Regions from separate parts of the Homo sapiens genome. Here region 2 is linked to region 1. The links are contacts of gene promoters, found by promoter capture Hi-C in blood cells and fetal thymus (Javierre and others, 2016). All regions are on one chromosome and are shown on one strand. Each heading gives the region's core, a stretch centred on a gene start or on the middle of the fragment in contact. The rest is flanking DNA. Distances are from core to core; before and after follow the strand shown. Region 1 holds the start of H3-4 (H3.4 histone, cluster member). Region 2 overlaps OBSCN (obscurin, cytoskeletal calmodulin and titin-interacting RhoGEF).

What was found. The method cuts DNA at HindIII sites, captures the fragments that hold promoters and counts their contacts. A CHiCAGO score of 5 or more calls a contact.
Region 2: a contact is called between a fragment that was not itself captured here and the fragment with the promoter of H3-4 in region 1, in 2 of 17 cell types (endothelial precursors and erythroblasts). The highest score is 6.3, in endothelial precursors.

The regions. Positions count from the first base shown.
Region 1 is chr1:228,421,796-228,427,804 of GRCh38, forward strand. H3-4 (H3.4 histone, cluster member) reads right to left here and starts at 3,565. Exons shown (of 1, transcript NM_003493.3): 1 at 3,050-3,565. The coding sequence starts at 3,530. The coding sequence ends at 3,120. The HindIII fragment of the contact is 2,523 bases long and covers 1,271-3,793 here.
Region 2 is chr1:228,251,328-228,257,049 of GRCh38, forward strand. OBSCN (obscurin, cytoskeletal calmodulin and titin-interacting RhoGEF) reads left to right here. Exons shown (of 116, transcript NM_001386125.1): 16 at 5,324-5,599. Among named protein-coding and RNA genes, the nearest start is that of OBSCN-AS1, 41 kb to the left of the region's middle. The HindIII fragment of the contact is 3,253 bases long and covers 2,847-5,722 here.

The DNA.
Region 1 (6,009 bases), core at 2,315-4,814:
TAATTGTAAGGGTCTGGCTCTGTTGCCCAGAATGGAGTGCAGTGGTGTGATCACGGCTTACTGCTCACTGTAACCTGGAACTCTTGGGCTCAAGCGATCTTCCCACCTCAGCCTTCTAAGTAGTTAAGACCACAGGCACACGCCATCATGCCCAGATAATTTTTGTATTTTTTGTAGAGACAGAGTCTTGCCATGTTGTCCAGGCTGGTCTTGAACTCCTTGGCCTCAAGAAATCCTCCCATCTCAGCCTCCCAAAAAGCTGGGATTATAGGCATGAGCCACTATGCCTGGCTGGAAAGACTTCCTCAAGTGCCCACTTACACGACCCAGAAAGACTTCAGTTACTTTTTTCCTGTGTCTAAACTTCCTTCCTTAGCTCCTCACCTTAGGTCCTCAGCAATCAGTTCTGAGATACAAATTGCCCTGTATTGCCTTGCTGTATCTTTATAGGGCACAATTAGTGCACTATCCACTCCATTAATCAGTGAAAACAAGGAACATATAAGGCCAAGCTCTTGTTTTTTGTTGTTGTTGTTGTTGTTTTTGTTATTGTTGTTGTTTTTGACAGGGTCTGTTGCCCAGATTGGCCTCAAAAACTCCTGGGCTCAAGCCATCCTCTCGCCTCCCCAGTAGCTAGGATTACAGGCATGTGCCACACTGCCCAACTTAGACTCTGTTCTTCATACAAAGACCAGAATGACAGGGGGCTGCTTAAGTGGCTTGGTCTCCTACAGAAGGCAAAGCTTGATCATGATCCTGTCAAGAATGCATTATCTGCATCCAGTTCCGCAAATGTAGCTAACTGCCCAAATTCCTGCTCCCTCCAGGCTATCCAGCAAGATCATCAGCAAGGTTACATAGGTTTAGCTCTCCACCACTGGGCAAGACTTTGTTAGGACAAGGGCTTTGTAAAGCACAGAAGACTTGAACTTCACCTGCTCGGGAGGCTAAGGCAGGAAGATGGCTTGAGCCCAGGAGTTCAAGGCTGGCCACTATGCTCACGTCTGTGAATAGCCACTGTACTCTAGCCTGGGCAGCATGGCAAGACCCTGTCTCTGAAAAAACAAAACAAAAAGGGAAAACTTAAATTTATCCCAAAGGAGTCTAGTATTGAAAGTCAGAGCTGACTTTCAAAACCAGAACATAGCTGTCCCTGAATATTCTAGGCTTTCTGGATAGCCCTCCAAGGATCTGGCACTCATAAGTTTAAATACATCCTGAGATTTAAAGGGTATGATGTTCAGTTGTGTGTGTACTAATAAATTGATGAAGCTTTTGAATTTTGAGTCAACAGGCTATAAATTGGGTTCAAAGAGACTTATAAAATCCACTGTTGCCTATTGATAGCACTTTATGCACATCCCTTGCTATGTATAAGAGCACCTTTTACTATCATTGCTTCTACACACAATACAGGCCCCCTTCACTCAAGCATAAGCACCTTGAAAGCAGAGTGGGCAGCAGCCACAGGAAATGGATTTTATTCCCTCCATGATCCCAGCATGGGGTAGTGCTTGGCCTCATTCAATTTAATAAAGCCTTTCACAAATAAATGATTCCAACCTGTACCAGAGGGAGACAATCCCTACATCCTTATCCTCACAGCCATCCTCAGGTTTTCCTGACATAAGTCTACTATTGGATCTGTGGCCTGCTGCCCTAGCTGTAGGATTTCTCAGCAAGTTGGTCTCTGTGTCTCTCATCCCCAGAGCACTGCCAGACTACTTTGTGGCGCTGGGAAGCCTGTTTCAAAGTGCTGGGCACATGGGCCACGCCTGTCTGCGACTGCTCAGTAAACTGACTTCCAGGGCAGAGTGCCCTCTTTGAACTTTGGGCTGGGGTTTCCCAGTATTGATTTCACTTAGGAATTAACAATGCACATGCCTAGCTGGGCTTCTCACACACAACTAGCTAGTCATCTACCCTAACAGAAGACAGGGTGAATTTACAACATACATGACTAGCCAGCCTTTTAACTGAATGGGAGATTGGGTATGTTAACACATACAATGAGATGGACTTCTAACCCGAGATGGGCCAACACCACAGCTACATATGTGTGCACATGGGTGCACGTGCACACACACACACCCCTAGCCAGCCTTCTAACCTAATGGGAGATAGCCCAAGTTAAAAAGATACACAACTAGCCAGCCTTCTAAATTAACAGGAGGTAGGCTGAGTTAAAACACACAAGTAGCTGGACTTTTTTTTGTTTTTTTTTTTGAGATTGAGTCTCGTTCTGTTGCCCACGCTGCAGTGCAGTGGCATGATCTTGGCTCACTGCAACCTCCGCCCCCTGGGTTCAAGCAGTTCTCCTGCCTCAGCCTCCCAAGTAGCTGGGATTACAGGTATGCGCCACCAAACCCGGCTAATTTTAGAGATGGGGTTTCACCATGTTGGCCAGGCTGGTCTGGAACTCCTGACCTCAGGTGATACACCCGCCTCGGCCTCCCAAAGTGCTGGGATTACAGGCGTAAGCTGCTATGCTGGTGAAGTAGCTGGACTTCTAACTTAAAATAGGCCAAGATAATACATACTACTTGCTGGCCTTAACAGGAGATGGGCTGTCAAGGCAGAAGACTAGCTGGACTGGTAACCTCACTGGAAACAAGCTGCGTGTACACACACACACACACACGCAGGACTTCTAACCTAATTTGAAAGAGGCTGAGCTGAGAACACACAAGACCAGCCAGCCTTCCAACCTAACTGTAGATAGGCTGAGTTGACACAACTAGCTGGGGTTGCTTACCTAACTGGAGATAGACCAATTAGGCTACCCTCAACACCCCGTCCCCAAAACAGACCAACCATGATTCTTATCTAAACGGATAGGCCAAGTTAGCCCCACACACTACTAGCTGGATTTGTGACTGGAGACAGGCTGAGAGGTAACGCGTGTGAGTAGCTGGCCTCCTAACTGGACAGGGTGAACACAGGATTCACCAGCCTCCCACCCTAATCAGAAGTAGGTAAGCCAGCACAGGCCAGCGGAAGGAACCCCCCGAAACCCAAGAGACTAGCTTGCTACAGCAACTCTTCGACCAGGTGGGTGGCTCTTAAAAGAGCCTTTGGGGTGAACGTTGCGCAACCTCTCAGGTGGCGAGATAGCCCTCCTAGGCCCGCTCCCCGCGGATACGGCGTGCCAGCTGGATGTCCTTAGGCATGATGGTGACCCGTTTGGCATGGATGACACACAGGTTGGTGTCCTCAAACAGCCCCACCAGGTAAGACTCGCACGCCTCCTGCAGCGCCATCACGGCCGAGCTCTGGAAGCGCAGGTCGGTCTTAAAGTCCTGAGCGATCTCGCGCATCAGCCGCTGGAAGGGCAACTTGCGGATTAGCAGCTCAGTGGACTTCTGGTAGCGGCGGATCTCGCGAAGCGCCACCGTGCCGGGCCGGTAGCGGTGCGGCTTCTTCACGCCGCCAGTGGCAGGTGCGCTCTTGCGAGCCACCTTGGTGGCCAGCTGCTTGCGCGGCGCCTTGCCACCCGTTGACTTGCGCGCAGTCTGCTTGGTTCGGGCCATGAATCCGAAACTGTTGGCCCCGCGGTGTCCTCTGCCCAGACCTCAGCGGATTGCTCGCTTTTATAGAGCTTGCCGCGTTCCCATTGGCTGGCCTCAGGTGGCGTGATGGCCCACTGCTCTCTGATTGGCCCACAGGGAACTCCACTCGGGCGCCTCTCCCTTATATTCATGCCTGTTGGTCGTGGCCACCAGAGCTGGCACCAGCATTGTGAAGGGTTGATGCGGGTAGGCCGCGGTGGTGGGGATCATCTCTCTCCAGCACAAGCTTCCTCATGTCTTCTCAGCGCTCCTCTTCTCCCTTCCCCATGACTTGGGTGGCAAGAGCCTTCCAGAAGCCAGCACATGGCATTCCACTTTTTTAAAAAATTAATTTATTTTTTTATTTTTTGAGATGGAGTTTCACTCTTGTTGCCCAGGCTGGAGTGCAATAGCGTGATCTCTGCTTACTGCAACCTCCACCTCCCAGGTTCAAGCGATTCTCCTGCCTCAGCCTCCCGAGTAACTGGAATTACAGGGATTACAGGTGTCCGCCACCATGCCTGGCTAATTTTTTGTGTTTTTAATAGAGATGGGGTTTCACCATATTGGCCAGGCTGGTCTCGAACTCCTGACCTCAGGTGATCCACCCGCCTCGGCCTCCCAAAGTGCTGGGATTACAGGCATGAGCCACCAGGCCCAGCTGGCATTTCACTTTTTTTTTTTTTTTTTTGAGACGGAGTCTCTCTCTGTCGCCCAGGCTGGAGTGCAGTGGCGCAATCCCAGCTCACTGCAAGCTCCGCCTCCCGGGTTCACGCCATTCTCCTGCCTCAGCCTACAGAGTAGCTGGGACTACAGGTGCCCGCCATCATGCCTGGCTAATTTTGTTTTGTATTTTTAGTAGAGACGGGGTTTCACCATGTTAGCCAGGATGGTCTCGATCTCCTGACCTCGTGATCCGCCCGCCTCGGCCTCCCAAAGTGTTGGGATTACAGGCGTGAGCCAGCGTGCCCGGCCGGCATTCCACTTTTACACAGTGACAAAGCTCTGGGATGCAGCCAGAGTTAAAGGAATCTCCCACTTTTTATGACCTGCAAAGAACTCCCTTACCTGTACGGCTTAGATGAGCCTTAGGATTCTGAAGAAGGTAAAGATGTGCCTTTCTGGCATATTGTCTATTTTGAGATAAAGGCACTTAAAAAAAAAAAAGAAGAAGCAGGTGTAGGAAGATCATTCTGAATTTCTTGTTGTTTCTTAAATACAAGAGATGAAATTCCCATATGAAAGATGTTCTCCTTATAGTAAAAGCAAGGGAACGTTCTTATCATCAAGGACGGGAGGTGGAAGCTTCCAAATCTCCTCCAACTCTCAAGTTGAAATTTGATCCCTAAAGTTGGAGCCCAGGGAGGGGGGGGCCAGTGGGAGGTGTGTGGGTCCTGGGGTGTCACCCTCTGAATAGAGTCCTGCCCTCCTTTAGGGTGAGTTTTCACTCTGTTGGTTCCCTGAAGAGCTGGTGTTGAAAAGAGCCTGGCACCCCTCTCCCCTCTCTCTCTGGCGTCCTCTCTCGCGGCAGCCCTGTGACCTCTGCACATACATGGGTTCCCCTTCACCTTCCACCATGAGCAGAAGCAGCCAGAGGCCCTCACCAGAAGCAGAGGTGGGCCCTATGCTTGCTTCCTTCCTTTCTCCCTCCCTCCCTTCCTTTCTCCTTCCCTCCCTTCCTCACTCCCTCCCTTCCTTTCTCCTTCCCTCCCTTCCTTTCTCCTTCCCTCCCTTCCTTTCTCCTTCCCTCCCTTCCTTTCTCCTTCCCTCCCTTCCTCACTCCCTCCCTCCCTTCCTTTTTTTCTTCTCCCTTCCCCTCCCCTCCTTTCCCTCCTTTTTTCATCTTGCTCTGTTGCCCAGGCCCCTCTTACCTCAGCCTCCCAAGTAGCTGGGACCACATCCAGCTAATTTTTAAATTTTTAATTTTTTTGTAGAGATGGGCTGTCATTATGTTGCCCAAGCTGGTCTTGAATTCCTGAGTTCAACTGATCCCCCGACCTTGGCCTCCCAAAGTGCTAGGATTACACCGTGCCCGGCCACTATGCTTTTTTTTTTTTAATTTTTTGACCTGAGTCTCACTCTGTTGCCCAGGCTGGAGTGCAGTGATGTGATCTCAGCCCACTGCAACATCCGCCTCCCGGGAAGTTCAAGCGACTCTCCTGCCTCAGCCTCCTGAGTAGCTGGGATTACAGGCGTGAGCCACTGCGCCCAGCCACTGTGCTTCTTGTACAGCCTGCGAAACCATAAGCCAAATAAACCTTTTTTTTTTTTAATAAATCATCCAGCCTCAGGTATTCCTTTAACAACATGAAACAGACCAAGATAGAAGCCAAGAGAAATCTATACAAACAAACTTTATTAAACTAACCCTTATCTTCCTAGTTGTTGCCACAGTTACTACTCTTTGTTCAACCTAGTGTGTAAGTATTTTGACTTAGTCATTTCTTCACCCCATTAACTA
Region 2 (5,722 bases), core at 3,223-5,722, 170 kb before region 1:
ATGGGGAACATGGTAAGACCAGTGAATTCCATGAGCATAAGCCCACTGCCACACTTTTTTAACCATAGAGTGCTTTGGTCAGAGGCAGTGCTGTGTGAAATACCATGACGGTGGATAAGACATTCTGTGAATCCATGGATGGTAGTCTTGGTCAAAGTGTTGTGTGCAGGATAGACAAACCCATATCTGGATAAGTGTCTATTCTGGTGAGGACAAACCATTGCCCTTTCTATGATGGAAGAGGTCCAATATAATCAACCTGCCATCAAGTAGATGTCTGATCACCCTGAGAAATGGTGCCATATCGAGGGCTCATTGTTGGTCTCTGCTGCTGGCAAATTGGGCACTCAGCAGTGGCCTTAGTCAGGACTGCCTTGGTGAGTGGAAGTCCATGCTGCTGAGCACATGTGTAACCTCCATCCCTGCCACCATGGCTGCTTTGTTCATGGACCCATTGGGTGATGACAGGGGTGGCTGGGGAAGGAGGCTGAGTGGTGTCCACAGTCATCCTATTCACTTGATTATTAAAATCCTCCTCTGCTGAGGTCACCCTTTGGTGAGCACTCGCATGAGATACAAATATCTTCACAATTTTTGACCACTCAGAGAGGTCCATCCACACACCTCTTCCTCAATTTTCCAATCATGCTTCTTCCAAGTCCCTGACCATCCAGCCAAACCATTGTCTACAGCCCATGAATCAGTGTATAATCGCTCATCTGGCCATTTCTCCTTCAAGCAAAGTGCACAACGAGGTGCACTGCTTGAAGTTCTGCCCACTGGGAAGATTTCCATTTGCCCCTGTTCTTCAGGGATGTCCTAGAAAGGGGCTGTAGTGCTGCAGCTCTCCGCTTTTGGGTAGTGCCCGCATATCGTACAGAACCGTCTGTGAACCAGGCCCTAGTCTTCTCTTCCTCTGTCAGTTGATCATAGGGAACTCTCCATGAGGCCATTGGTGCAGGCTGGAGGAGAGAAGGCAGGGTGGCAGGAGTGGGGACCATGGGCATTTGAGCCACTTCCTCATGTAACTTACTTGGGCCTTCAGGACCTACTTGAGCCCGATCATGTATATACCACTTCCATTTGATGATAGAATGCTGTTGTGCATGCCCAACTTTATGGCTAGGTGGGTCAGAAAGCACCCAGGTTATGACAAGCAGTTCAAGTCACATGGTGACTTGATGATCCATAGTCAATTGTTCAGTTTCCACCAAAGCTCAGTAACAGGCCAAGAGCTGTCTCTCAAAATGAGAGTAGTTATCTGCAGAAGATGACAGGGTGTTGTTCCAAAATCCTAAAGGCCTCCACTCTGATTCACCCGTGGGGGCTGCCAAAGGCTCCAGACAGCATCCCTATCTGCCACTGGCACCTTAAGCACCACTGGATCTGCTGAGTCATATGGCCCAAGTGGCAGAGCAGCTTGCACAGCAGCCTGGACCTGTTGCAGACCCTTCTCCTGTTCTGGACCCCACTCAAAACTGGCAGCCTTTTGGGTCACTTGATAAATGATCCAGAGTAACACACCCACATGAGGAATGTGTTGCCTCCAAAATCCAAATAGACATTGTGCCTCTTTCTTGGTTGTAGGAGGGGCCAAATGCAGCAACTTATCCTTCACCTTAGAAGGAATATCTTGACAGGCCCCACACCACTCGACCCCTAGACATTTTACTGAGGTGGGAGGTCCCTGAATTTTAGTCAGATTTATTTCCCATCCTCTGGAATGCAAATGTCTCACCAGCAAGTCCAGTGTGTTTGCTGCTGTGTATATCTGTGTTCCCTTGGCTGATACATAGGGAAGCCTGAGAAATACAATTAATTTCCTTTTTTTTTTTTTTTTTAAAATAAAGAGAGTGTTGATGCCAAATAGGGGTGGGCTGAAGTCCCATGGTGACCTCTGGGTGCTAACACATAAGTTTGGTATTACATCAGCATCAGTGTTATGTGGATGTGTATAGATAACAGAAATCCCACTGTATATTTCTGTGAAGTTATTTTCAGAGAATATGACAAAATGTTTTATGTAATAAATTTGAAAAGTTGTGACAATTTGGCTAATTCCTAGTAAATTACATGAAAACTCACATAAAAGGTTACAGAAAACTTAGTCCTATAAGTTTTAAATAGATGGAGGCAGTAGTAAAAAAATCTTTTAAACCCAATAATTTTCTAGTAAACTGTTTCAAATATTCTGGAAAGCAGTTACTCCATATTCATGAATATTGTTCTGGAGAATAGAAAAAGGAGATTGACTCCATATGCCATTTTATGGTTTTTTTTTTTTGTTTGTTTGTTTGTTTGAGACAGGGCCTCACTCTATTGTCCAGGCTGGAGTACAGTGGCATGATCTTGGCTCACTGCACCCTCTGCCTCCCAGGTTCAAGTGATTTTCCTACCTCAGCCCCCCAAGTAGCTGGGATTACAGGGATGCACCACCACCACAAAAATAGCATGTGTGCCAGCTATTTTTTTGTATTTTTTTTTTTCAGTAGAGACGGGGTTTTGCCATGTTGCCCAGGCTAGTCTCAAACTTCTGGGCTCAAGCTATCCACCCGCCTTGGCCTCCCACAGTGCTGGTATTACAGGCATGAGCCACCATGCCCAGGCCATCATTTTATGTAGATAGCGTAACATTAATACCAAAATCTGACAAAGGAAGTAGGAAGAATTAAATTGTCGACCAATCTATATGGATTTGTCATTATGGATATCAAGAACACAATCATAAACAAAGTATTAGCAAATGGAATTCAGCAATGTATCAAGAAGACAGTGCACTCTGTTGAAGATCCTGGTCCCAGAATGCAAGGCTGGTTTGGCTTTAGAAGCATTAGATCAGTATAATAAGCTTGACCTTAACAGATTGAATGAAAAATGATGTAATTATCTCAATAAATGCAGATTAAAAGTATTTGATAAAATCTAGAAGATATATTTGAGAAAATTTAGCATCAACTCATTTCATAGGATTCTTAACAAACTTTATAGAAGTGTTCTTCCTTAATTTGATAAATGGTACTAGAGAAGCACCACTAGGATCCCACTCAGAGCAAACCTTGAAAGGTTTGGTTCAGAGAAGGAGACAGGGCAGTGTCACCACTTGTATCCAACATTGTACATAAGGGTAAGGAGGAAAATAACGCAAAAGGCATGGCACTTGGAAAAAGTAAAAGTGAAATTTACTGATGATATGGCCATCCACTTGGAAAATCCAATAGAGAACTTAGTAGACTAAGTAACATTGAGAATGATTATTCTGTTAAAAAAAAAAATCAACACACAGACAATACTTCTGTATCTATATACAGCAGTAAACAGTTGCAAAATGAAATTTGAAAAGACTTACAGTAGCATCAAAATTACAGTGTTTCTAATTCAAAGTCTAATAAAGATGTTTAAAGCCTGGGGAGGGGCTAGGAAATTGTTGTATATTTTGCAAGACAATTAAGAGATCTAATTAAATGGATAGAAATTCATGAAACATTAAAATATATTCATTAACAATCAGGATCCAAACAATTTTTTTTTGTGGGGGAATGAAAAGAAAATCAAAGTATGAACATTACTCTACCAGATGTCAAAAATTATCATAAAGTTACAGTAATTAAGACAATGGATTTCAATGAATGGTTAGATATCAGAACAAAGAAATGGAATAGTGAGCTCAGGAACAGTTCTATGCATCAGTGATCTCTGGATGTCCCCCTTCCTTTTTTTTTTTTTTTTTTTTTTTTAACCATGGCATCTGTGCAAGAAGTAGAGAAAGGATAGTGTTTTCTTTTTTTTTTGTTTTGAGATGGAGTCTAGCTCTGTTGTCCAGGCTGGAGTGCAGTGGCGCCATCTTGGCTCACTGCAAGCTCTGCCTCCCGGGTTCATGCCATTCTCCTGCCTCAGCCTCCCGAGTAGCTGGGACTTCAGGTGCCCGCCACCACACCCGGCTAATTTTTTTGTATTTTTAGTAGAGACGGGGTTTCACTGTGTTAGCCAGGATGGTCTTGATCTCTTGATCTCCTGACCTCGTGATCCGCCCGCCTCAGCCTCCCAAAGTGCTGGGATTACAGGCATGAGCCACTGTGCCCAGCCAAGGATAGTGTTTTCATAACTAGTGTGTGGACCATTTTAAACATATGGGAAGAATTAAAGCATATTGGTAATTCATAGCATGCGCGAGAGTCAGCTCCTGGTGGGTTAGAGACCTCAGGGTAAAAGGTAAAACAATAAACCCCAAGATGGTAAGCATAGGCTATCTACAGAATTTAGGGTAAGGAAGTGTTTAAATAGAACACAAATGCCCTAACCACAATGGACAAGATTGATATATTTGAGTACATTAAAACTAAAAGGTCTGATTCATCAGAAGGTGCCATAAGAGATGAAAACCCAAGTCACACAGGTAGGGAAGATACAAAGTGCATAATTGTGACCTCTCTAACATTAAAATATATGAAGAAGACCTTAAAGCCAGGGTCCCCAACCCCCAGGCTGTGGACCAGTACTGTTCTGTGGCCTGTTAGGAACTGGGCCGCACAGCAGGAGGTGAGTGGCAGGTGAGCATTCCCGCCTGAGCTCTGCCTCCTGTCAGATCAGCAGCAGCATTAGATTCTCATAGGAGCATGAACCCTATTGTGAACTGTGCATTGGAGGAATCTAGGTTGTGCTCCTTATGAGAATCTAATGCCTGATGATCTGAGGTGGAACAGTTTCATCCTGAAACTATCCCACCAACCCCCATCTGTGGAAAAATTGCCTTCCATGAAGCTAGTCCCTGCTGCCAAAAATGTTGGGGACTGCCTTCTTAAACTGAATAAAGACAACAAGACAGTGCTATTGATAATGGGACGGAATTGAGTAGTGACACCACAGAGGAGCAAACAGGAATGGCCAATCCTCTAGAAAGATGCTCAGCCCTGTGAGCCATCAAACAATGAAGAAAGCCACAGCGACACACCCCGCTGAGGCCAAAGCTGACCGTCCTGACAGTGGCAGAAGCGGGAGCCTCAAGACTGGGGTTCTGTGGTGAGGATGCGTCTTGCACAGCCGCATTGGGAGACCCTTGCTCCATTCATGAGGGGAAGGGTGCAGGCGTCAGGACCCCAATCCCTGCCCCAGATGAGCTTGTGTGGGCAAGATCTGTCAGCCACCCCACCAAAGACAGCCTGTGGCACCATGCAGAATGGATGGAGAAACTTCCTTGTGCTGGGAGGTGGTGGTGCAGCCTGGAGAGCGTCTGTCCCTTGCGCCTCCCCTTCCAGGCCTTCTCTCCCCAGTTCTGCCTTCCTGACCTAGATGTTGGTGGTCACCGTGTGCATCTTGCCTTCCCCAGAGCCCAAGGTGGTGTTTGCCAAGGAGCAGCCAGTGCACAGGGAGGTGCAGGCCCAGGCGGGGGCCAGCACCACACTCAGCTGCGAGGTGGCTCAGGCCCAGACGGAGGTGATGTGGTACAAGGACGGGAAGAAGCTGAGCTTCAGCTCGAAAGTGCGCATGGAGGCTGTGGGCTGCACACGGAGGCTGGTGGTGCAGCAGGCGGGCCAGGCGGTCGCCGGGGAGTACAGCTGCGAGGCGGGGAGCCAGCGGCTCTCCTTCCACCTGCACGTGGCAGGTCAGTGCTTTGGGGGTTGGAGAGTGACTTTGTGTGGAGGTGATGATGAGACTGGCTGATGGACTCCACGGCCTCCAGTGCCCTTTCCATGAGACTCCACCTCTCCACTTCTCCATGCCCTCA